Linked DNA regions of Homo sapiens: region 1 is linked to region 2. Evidence: promoter capture Hi-C in 16 types of primary human blood cells and fetal thymus (Javierre and others, 2016). All regions are on one chromosome and are shown on one strand. The core of a region is centred on a gene start or on the middle of the fragment in contact, and the rest is flanking DNA. Distances in the headings are between cores, read along the strand shown. Region 1 overlaps MARK2 (microtubule affinity regulating kinase 2). Region 2 holds the start of MACROD1 (mono-ADP ribosylhydrolase 1).

Region 1 (4,808 bases), core at 1,587-4,086, 320 kb before region 2:
TGCTTCTTCGTTTTCCAAATTGTGCTCTCCCTCTTGCTTGCAACCCACCAGCTCCACCCTCATCACCTTTCCAAATCCTTCGCCTACTCTTTGCTCATCACTTTCCCTTCTTTGCTCCAGGAGCTCCCTGGATCCTGGCGCTGGCATTTGTCGCTTCCGTGTTTCCCCACAGCTGTCATGCGCATAGTTTTCCCACAGGTTGCGTTTGGGGTTCCAATCATCACTCCCTTCAGAGTCTTTGGATCCCTCTTGTTCTCTTCCCCTCGGGTTTGGCTTTTAGGTCCCTGGGCCTCTTGTTTCTCTCTGTGAGTGTTCTACCAGCCTTCTACTGGGCTCTTTCTCCCAACCCAAAGACACTTGGCCCCACCGTATTAACACAACCTGTTGCTCAGTCCTTTCCCAGACCTCGCTGCATCACAGTTTTTGCCTTTCTGTCTTCGTACGCTGGAACACAAACCATGATGACTTTCTGTGTCTTCACTCCCGTGCCTGGCACTTAGAGTATTTTCTTTCTTGCTTGTTGCCTTCCTGTTTCTCCACCCTCACCCCATCTTCCTTACTGTGCCTTTTAATCAGCGTTGCCTTTCATCTCCGCATTAGTCTCCTGCCTTCTTCATGTCCTGTGTATCCCCACACCGTGCTTGGATCCATTCTGTTCCTATTGGCTAAGTCTCTGTAATGCCCAGGAAGTCCAGGTGTTTTGCATGCTAGTTTCTTGAGCTACACCTCAGCCTCACGACTCTACACGGTCCCCCTCATCCTGGCAGTCACTGCTATGTTTTTCACCCAAGTCTTAGCCTTTCTGTGTCATCTCACTTTTGATCCCAGAGACGTCCACTTTCCACACCTCCCCTTTCTTTCACCATCTCTAGCGTCCTTTGCTGACTGCTCTGTGCAGAGTCCCCTGCCTGTCATACCTTTCTTGGTGGAGAACTTTACTAGGCCAAAAAAACTTGACTTGAAAAAGAAGTGCTTCTGCCCCGGGGCTGCTGTGCTTTTTGCCTTCTTTCCCCTCCTTCCATCCTTTATGTTTCCCTCTTACTCCCTTCTTTCTTTGTAGCCCGGTAGAGCAGTTGTTGTATTCTCTTGCATGTGAACATTCTTCTTTGAAAAATCTTACCTCCTTTCTTTTACTGTGTTTTTCTATTTTGTTACCCCCTGGCCCTCTGTCACCTGGGCAGTTAGGAACTAAAGAGAAGTTCTAGGCAGAGTTTTTCTCTGCAGGGTTGACCCTTTTATTACTTGTGGATTATTTGCTTCTGGGGGTGAAATAGGGGTTGAGAGGGAGGGATGGTTGATTTCCATTTCATCACTGGGTTTGGCAGCTGGTTCTGCATGGGACAGGGGTCTTTGGAGACAGAGGAGCATGTTCTGTGTCTCGCAGTCTTTCTCTCCCTTGCCTACCGGCTGTTTCTCTCTCCTTACTGGGAATTGCTTTCTCTGGGCCCTCTTGAGGTTGCTTATTCCACCCATTTTCCTCTCACAACCTTTGTTTTAGCAGGTAAACCCTGCTTAACCAGAGAACTTTCCCAGACTGTTGATCGTGAGCTGGTAGGAGGAGGCCAAGTGACTGACTGGCACCCTCAGGCATTTGGGGAGTGGCGATGGAGTGCCTACTCTCAGTGAGGCTGGTGGGGGGCATTGTGTTCAGCAGAGCAGAGTAACAGACTGCCTCAGTGTGGTTTCTTTGTGCTGCTTACTACATGTAAATGTATTATTGCCATGGTATTTTTCCTGTGATGTGTGTGTTGATTTCCTTTCTTCCTTACATGCCTAGCATACTGCTGAGCATATAGTAGGAATTCCACCGTAGTGTGCATCCACTGATTCCATGATAGCAGCAATCAGTGACCATTTGGGAATGTAAGTAAGCTCTTTGCTCTTTGATAACTTTGCCCAGAGCAGTAGCTGCATACATTGTCATCCTGTTAGGATTATTAATTACCCATCCTATTTCTACTCTTTATGGACTTAGATTCTCCTTAGCCCCTTCATACCTTCTACTGTTGTTCTCAGGGTAGCCAGTCACTGTATCGATTTAATATTAAGTCTCATTCCAGTAAAAGCAGGGACTTTGGAAAACCTTGGATGCACCTATTCCAGACAGATTCCTGTATTCTTTTTTTTTTTTTTTTTTGAGATAGAGTCTCGTTCTGTCGCCAGGCTGGAGTGCAGTGGCACAATCTTGGCTCACTGCAATCTCCGCCTCCTGGGTTCAAGCGATTCCCCTGCCTCAGCCTCCTGAGTAGCTGGGACTACAGGCACACACCGCCACGCCCGGCTAATTTTTTGGATTTTAGTAGAGACAGCGTTTCACCATGTTGTCCAGGATGGTCTCAGTCTCCTGTCCTCGTGATCCGGCCTCCCAAAGTGCTGGGATTACAGGTGTGAGCCACTGCGCCGGGCCTGATTCCTGTATTCTTTAAAACGGGAAAAAAGACAAGCAGCAGCTCCTCAGGTCACAAGGCCAGGTATATCAAACACTGGCCTCCGAGAATAGATCATGCCACCAAGTGAAAGAAACCTCTTCTTGGTCCTGTTGTGATTTTAGATAAAGTAGTCATGGAAGCTTGGTCATTACTATAGTCTTAATGTTATTTTTTTTAAAAAGGGGATTTAGTTGGGCTGATTTCCTCCCCTAAAGGTCCTCTGTCACCTTATTTAAATTTAAAACTGGTTTTACCAGAAAATAGGTAAACAAACACCACTGGTTGTCTCCAGTCTCTTTTCTTGCTCTTCCTCTCCCTCTTCTTTAAAAATGTGGCTGATGAGAACCTGTTTCCAGGAGCCCTTTAATCACTCTGAAACACACAGACACTGAAAATGTTGAAGCATAAAAATAAACCTTGCGTTACAGGGAGATTGCCTGTGTGCTGTCCACTTCGCTTATAACAGTGAAAGTAGGAGATTAAAAAAAAAAAAAAGTTAAGCCCTGTCTTTAAGATGGTTTTTGTGACACCTGATTCCAGATGTGCTTTTTCACAGCCATAGACTTCCTGCTTTTGCAGAAGGAGGGTTCTAATCTGGGGCTCGTAGCTTGGGGGATTCTTAGTTTGTGAGCTGAGCTTTTTGTTCACTTCTTTTCCAAATGACTCTGCTGGCCTGAAGCTTGGCAGTTGTGAAAGCAATCAGCAAGATGACTGTTTGTCTTCCAGCCAGCAGCAGCAGTCACAGGCAAGCCTGGAGAAAGGTCCAGCTTCCAGAGTTCACCTGCTAGAGTTTTCCATAACACCTGGGGGAGAGGCTACTCCATCTGGGACCTGCCCCACCTCTGGGCCTCAGAAACTATGAGAGAGGGATTGAGAGAAAACTTGCCCCACTTCTGCTGCAGTGGGAAGGGAGGGGGCTGCTGTCAGGCTTCTAGGCAGTGAGCGGCATTGTTTATTCTCTCAGTTCTAGGAAGGGGAGTTTAGAAGTACTGGTGAAGAAAACAAAGTTACAAGATCCTATAAGGAACAGCTGAACTACTCCAAACACTCTCACTGGACCCCCATTGTTGATTCTGGATAAAAATATATATATATATAAAACTCTTTTTTTTTTTGACACAGAGTCTTGCTCTGTCGCCCAGGCTGGAGTGTAGCGATGCGATCTCGGCTCACTGCAACCTCCGCCTCCCGGGTCAAGCGATTCTCCTGCCTCAGCCTCCTGGGAGTAGCTGGGACTACAGGCGCCCACCACCATGCTGGCTAATTTTTGTATTTTTAGTAGAGACGGGGTTTTGCCATATTGGCCAAGCTGGTCTCGATCTCCTGACCTCAGGTGATCTGCTGGATAAATATTTTTTTTTTGCTTTTGGTGTAACTTAGGTAGATTGGATCGGCTAGCTAGCATCTCAGTCCACACTCTGAGCTGTGCAGCAGTGTGCCCTGGTGCTAATTCTCACTCTGTCCTTTGATTCTGGCCAGGGGGTCCTTGGTGGTGCTGCCTTCTGGTCAGGAATGTGGGTGAATGTCAGACCAAATAGTGTCACTTTCGGCTTGGCCCTAGAGATCAGGAAGGAAGTGTTGTTAGAGCAAGGGCTTTGGGAGTCCTTGGAGTTCGTAACCTTTGAATCTGAAAAGTAACTGTACCTAGTAAATTAGAATAATTTCTCTCTGGTCAGGCACCATGGCTCATGCCTGTAGTCCTAGCACTTTGGGAAGCCAAGGCAGGAGGATTGCTTGAGGCCAGGAGTTCAAGACCAGCCTGATCAATAAAGTGAGACTCCATCTCTACAAAAAAATTTTTTTAAATTTAGCTGGGCATGGTGGCACATGCCTGTGGTTGCAGCTACACAGAAGGCTGAGGCAGGAGGATGGCTTGAGCTGGGGAGGTCGAGACTGCATTGAGCTGTGTTTGTGCCACTGCACTTCAGCCTGGGTGACAGAGCAAGACACTATCTCAGAAAAAAAAAATTACTTTTCTCCAATTTATGGACTTCGGAAAGTAGCTAAACAGATGGATATAAGACAGTTGTTGAAACTCGGCCTGCTGCAGATTAAAATAAAGTTTGCACAAGGATAACTTAATCTTTCAGACCAACCAAAGTTTGGGCTGGAGATTTTTCTCAGCATAAATGTCCTAAGCAGAGTTGGTGCCTATGAGGTAGGAAAAGATTGAGACTTTGCTTGCCTAAGAGGTTTGCAGGGTTCGAGCTTTTGGGAGTCAGAACTTCTCAGACTAGATTGTTTCCCCTTTGGACAGAACAACCCAATTCTCAGTGGGCATTTGATCAGGACTAACCCAGGCCTTCATGAACTCTTTCCCATTGAGCACTTAGCCACCTGGCTGGCATTTCTCTTCTCCCAGGAGCTTCCATGAGGTTC
Region 2 (4,953 bases), core at 1,867-4,366:
TGTAATCCCAGCTACTGGGGAGGCTGAGGCAGGAAAATCACTTGAACCCCGGAGGCGGAGGTTGCAGTGAGCTGAGATCACACCACTGCACTCCAGCCTGGGCAACAGAATAAGTCTTCATCTAAAAAACAAACAAACAAACAAACAAACAAACAAAAATTAGCCGGGTATAGTGGTGGGTGCCTGTAATCCCAGCTACTCAGGAGGCTGAGGCAGGAGAATCACTTGAACCCGGGAAGCAGAGGTTGCAGTGACATCACACCACTGCACTCCAGCCTGGACAAAAAGAGTGAAACTGTCTCAAAAAAAAATTTTTTTAAGAAAATAAAAACACACCTTCAAATTCTTTGAGATTCTTTCTTTCAAGAGGTAGAGCCTAATTTCCCTCTCCTGGAGTATGGCCAGACTCCCTGACTCGATTCTGACCCCTAGAATAAAGCAGGAGAGACTTCGAAGACGAGGTCACAAAGAAGGCACTGCAGCTCCATCGGGGTCTCCTCACGATCCCTCTCGTGGAGCATATGCTCTGGGGGAAAAGCTTAGGACATCTATCCCATGTGAGGCACTCAAGCAGCCCCATGGAGAGGCCCCAAAGTGACCAACCGAGGCCTCTCACCAAATGCCATTTTATGGGAGGGAGCTGTTTAGGAAGCCCATCCTCCAGCCCTAACCAAGTCCCACCCGGCCTCAGAGGGAGGGAGACCCTGAGCTAGAACCACCCAGCTAAGCTTCTCTCAGTTTCCTGACCCTCAAGAGATGGAGAGAATGCAGGTTTGCTGTTTTACGCCACTAAGGTTCGGGGTGTTTTGTTACACAGAAATAGATAACTATTGGGGGATCTCCACATCTCACCCCCGAAAGCGTCCCTCTAACTGTGGCTTCAGTAGCAGGCAGAGCCCCAGACCAGCCCCACTCCTTGGGCCTGGCCCACTGTCACTCAATAACGGGTCTGGAATATCATTACCCAGCTGGATGCCTCTTCTCAGGCCACCACCCCTGAGACGCCTCCTCTGATCTCCCCAGCTCAGGTGGCCCCATCTGCTATGGTGTCTTCACAGCACTGAGGTTACCGGGCCTTGTCTCAGCTGCTAGAACACATTCTTTACAATAGATGCTTTGTAATCCTCACACCAGATTACAAGCTCCATGAGGGCAGGGCCCTTGCCTATCTGACACATGTCTGAGTCCCCAGCCTGACCACCTAGGGGGCGTTCAATAAAAGTTTGCTGCATGATTGGAAATCCCACCTCGAAGCAAAAGGGAGACCCCAGTGACAACACAGCAGCCCAGGAACCCCAGCCCCATCACAAGGTCCGGTTGCTTTCCTGGCACCAAGGAGTGGGGCTGTGGGGGCTGGATCCTAAAAACAGCGGCAGCCCTCGAGCAGGTGCCTGGGCACCTTGTCTCCGTAGCTCTTTCCCACCCTCCTGGGTTGTTGTCCTCTGAGAGAGTGCTCAGGGGAGCAGGGGTCTCTGTGGGGACAGTGGCTCCCCCTCCAGGGGTCTCTGCCAGCCCCAAACTCCTCCTGCTGTTCTGGGGCAAGGGCCAAGTGCCTGACAAGTTCTCCATCTGCTCACGGGCTAAAGTCGGTGCTTTCTGCCGTCACTTTTAGATCCTGGCGCAGGCCACACAATTCATGTCAGGAGTAAATCATTTTGATTTCCACCTCTGGTCCCGAGAAAGCCATCTTCTCTTCACCCCTAACACCGCAGGACCCCCCCATCCTGCCTGCCCAGCCCAGAGGCCACACCTACTCCACCACGGAGGCCCAGCCAATTAGCCACTTCCCTGCACTTTTGAAAGGGGATCCAGCCGGGAAGAGTCACAGGATCCCAGGAGGCAGGCCCTGAAAGGCAGGGGCAGCTGGGTGCCCGGCAGGGCTATTTGGGGCTCAGTAGCGGCAGCTTGGGTTCTCTCTCTCCCCAGGCCCCAGACTCATGCCCCCTCCAGGAGCAAGAGGAAGTGGTGTGATTCTTGAAGGGTGTCATCAGTTGTCACAGGGACAAGACCCCACCTCTGCCCTGCTCCTCTAACCTCTGTTCCTGGCATGAGCAAACTGCTCACAAGTGGCCAGAGGCCAGCGAGAAGGGGAAAAGGGCGCCAGACCACGTGCCCAGGAAGGCATCAGAGTGCGGGCTTGGGGTGGGGTGGAGGCAGGACAGGCCAGCCCAGGAAGGTCACTCTGTGAGGTTACGTGCCCCACCAGGTGGGACGCCAGCCCCGGAGCTGTTCCCTCAGCCCCATTCCCGAACACTTAAGAACCACACTGTGCAAAGTTTGGAGAGTCCGGGATCATAACCTCCACTTTGCCACCAGCTCCGAGTGACCTTGGGGAAGCCAGCTGTGGCACTCGGCCTCAGTTTCCCTCCTGCACAGGGAAGGAAGTTGGTAGGTCCTGCACAATCTCTGGGGTGCCCTGTGACCCATTCCAATGGGGTAAGGAAGGCCGCCTTCCTCACGCTGCCCCCTGCGTGGACACTTGGACCTGGTCTGGAGTGAATTGTTCTGTGGGGCTGGGAACACGCGCGGGGGCGGGGGGGGCTGTCAATGGGGAGGAGGGGTCCGTTCCAGGGCAGATGGGGCCTCAACTTCCCCAGGTCTCTCGGGTGGAAGGGGCTGCTCGCTCGTTGGGGGCCGCCCAGCCGGGAAGCTCCACGTGAGGCCGCCCTCTCCCTCGCGCCCCCTCGTGCTTACACTTACATTTCGCCTCCTTCCAGTCGGTGGAGGTGCTCAGGTCCACCTTCGCCGCCATGGCCAGGGGGGCCCAAGTGCGCACCCCGGCTGTCCGCCCCACCGCCGCCGCCCCCCACGCCCCAACTCCCGCCGAGGTCCGCGCACGGCGGCCGAACACGCCCAGGAACGCCGGGGGACCGCACGTGCTGCTGCGGGTCCTCGTGGCACCCGCCAAGTGTCCGGGCCGGGGGCGCGGGGGGACGAGCAGCTGCCCCGCCGCGCGCAGCTGTGCCAGGCGGCCGGACAGTCGGCTCTGTAGAGACATGAGCGGGCGGCGCGGGACGGCTCTCCGCCCACTTGGACTCTATTTACGGCGCTCGGGAGTGTCTCTCCCTTATTTACTCTGGGACCGGGTGGCGACTGCCAGCCAGCGGCGACCTGCTCGGAGCCAGCGGGAGGCGCGGCCAGAAAACCCGGGAGCGCCGCTGGGCACCCTGGAACTTGTAGTCCGGGCCGCCGGATGGGCCCACGCACTCGTATACACACGTGCGCGCCCGCCCGGGCTCCCAGTGTCGCGGATGGAGCCCCGCCTGAGCCCTTCGACTTCTCCCGTGGCCGCCAGGCGCCTCCCCTCCGCGAGACCTCGGCCGCCTCTAACTTTCTGGTTGGCTGAGCGTCGGCTTCCCCGGCACGGGCTGAAGCCCCCGGGCCTTCCACGCAGCCCCGGGCCCCTCTGCCGCTCGGCCCCGCGGCGGAGCAGGCGCGCCGGCCGCTGCGTATCGAGCTGGGAGAGCCTGGCGCGGCTTCCGCAGTGCCGAGCGTTTTGCAGCCTGGGAGACCCGGGCTTCTCTCCCCGCGGGTCAGCAGGGCACCGCCTCCACACCCCAGCCTGCCCTCCTAGGGACAGGTGCGACGAACGGGTAAATCCGGTTTGGGGACTTCTCCCCAGAGCCTCTGCCTTCTAACAGCCCCGGGGCCAAGGCTCAGCTGGAGCAGAATCTAGGACAGCTGGGGAGGAGAGTCGAGGGTGGAAATAGTGGAATTTGGAGGCAGGAAACTTAGGCTTCAAGTGGCGTTCAAGGGTGGAAGGATTGGGGTGATGTTTTTGTGTGTGTCTGTGTGTTTTTTTTTTTTTTTCTTTTCTTTTTTAAACAAAAACCGGCCGGGCGCGGTGGCTCACGCCTGTAATCCCAGCACTTTGGTAGGCCGAGTTGGGTGGATCACGAGGTCAGGAGTTCGAGGCCTGCCTGGCCAACATGGCGAAACCCCGTCTCTACTAAAAATACAAAAATTATGCAGGCGTGGTGGTGCATGCCTGTTAATTACAGCTACTCGGGAGGCTGAGGCAGGAGAATCACTTGAACCCGGAAGGCGGAGGTTGCGGTGAGCCGAGATCGTGCCATTGCACTCCAGCCTGGGTGACAGAACGAGACTCTGTCTCAAAGAAAACAAAACAAAAAACACGAGGATGGATTTTTAAGTACTTTTATATATTTTTATGTACTATTAATATTACTTTATGATAAATATAATGAATACAGGCCGGGCCATTATAATAATATAATGAATGTAATAATGAATAATGAATAAGTGCTCACACCTGTAATCCCAGCACTTTGGGAGGCTGAGGCAAGAGGATTATTAGAGGCCAGGAGTTCAAGACCAGCCTGGGCAATATAGTGAGACCCCCTCATCTCTACCCGCCCCCACACAAAAAAATTACCCTGGTATGGTGGTAGACACTCACCTCTAGTCCCAGCTACTCCAGAGGCTGAGGCAGGCAAACACTTGAGCCCAAGGGTTCAAGGCTACAGAGAGCCATGATGGCACCACTGCACTACAGCCTGGACGACACAGTGAGACCCTATCTCAAAAGTAATAATAATAATGAATATATTTTAATACGAGGGAGGAACGAGCCAGGGTTTCAGAGAAGGTTCTAGTACTAGTGTTGCTGCCCTAGGGTACCCTAGCCCCTTAAGACTCAAACTTCTTGAGCTGTCAGCTAGGAATAAGAGAGTCTGGCTGGTTGCAAACCTGCTCCTGTGCTCCAGGCCTCTGACTCTGAGTGTGGCAATAACCATGGATGGCCGTACGAGGATCCCTGACCTGCCATGGATGCAGATGGAACCACTGGGATGGTGACACGGGCTCACCCTTGGACTCCAGACATTAAATCTGCCCAAGAGAGGATCAGCATAGACTTGCCAGCAGCAGGGTAGGCAGTCATCAGTACTGGGAGTGAGGGCAAAGGGGAGCCAGAGGCCAGGAAGGAAGAGC

What was found. Contacts are between HindIII fragments. The CHiCAGO score rates a contact against its expected background, and 5 or more counts as called.
Region 1: a fragment that was not itself captured here is called in contact with the fragment with the promoter of MACROD1 in region 2 in 1 of 17 cell types (naive B cells); the score reaches 5.5 in naive B cells.

The regions. Positions count from the first base shown.
Region 1 is chr11:63,840,099-63,844,906 of GRCh38, forward strand. All of the region lies in intron 1 of MARK2 (microtubule affinity regulating kinase 2), which reads left to right. Among named protein-coding and RNA genes, the nearest start is that of MARK2, 3.4 kb to the left of the region's middle. The HindIII fragment of the contact is 539 bases long and covers 2,568-3,106 here.
Region 2 is chr11:64,162,997-64,167,949 of GRCh38, forward strand. It overlaps MACROD1 (mono-ADP ribosylhydrolase 1), which reads right to left and starts at 3,117. Exons shown (of 11, transcript NM_014067.4): 1 at 2,701-3,117. The coding sequence starts at 2,998. It overlaps LOC105369339 (a long non-coding RNA gene), which reads left to right and starts at 3,242. Exons shown (of 3, transcript XR_950187.3): 1 at 3,242-3,593. RefSeq lists an enhancer at 2,636-3,136 and silencers at 2,674-2,773, 2,904-2,983, 3,244-3,503. The HindIII fragment of the contact is 18,296 bases long and covers 727-4,953 here.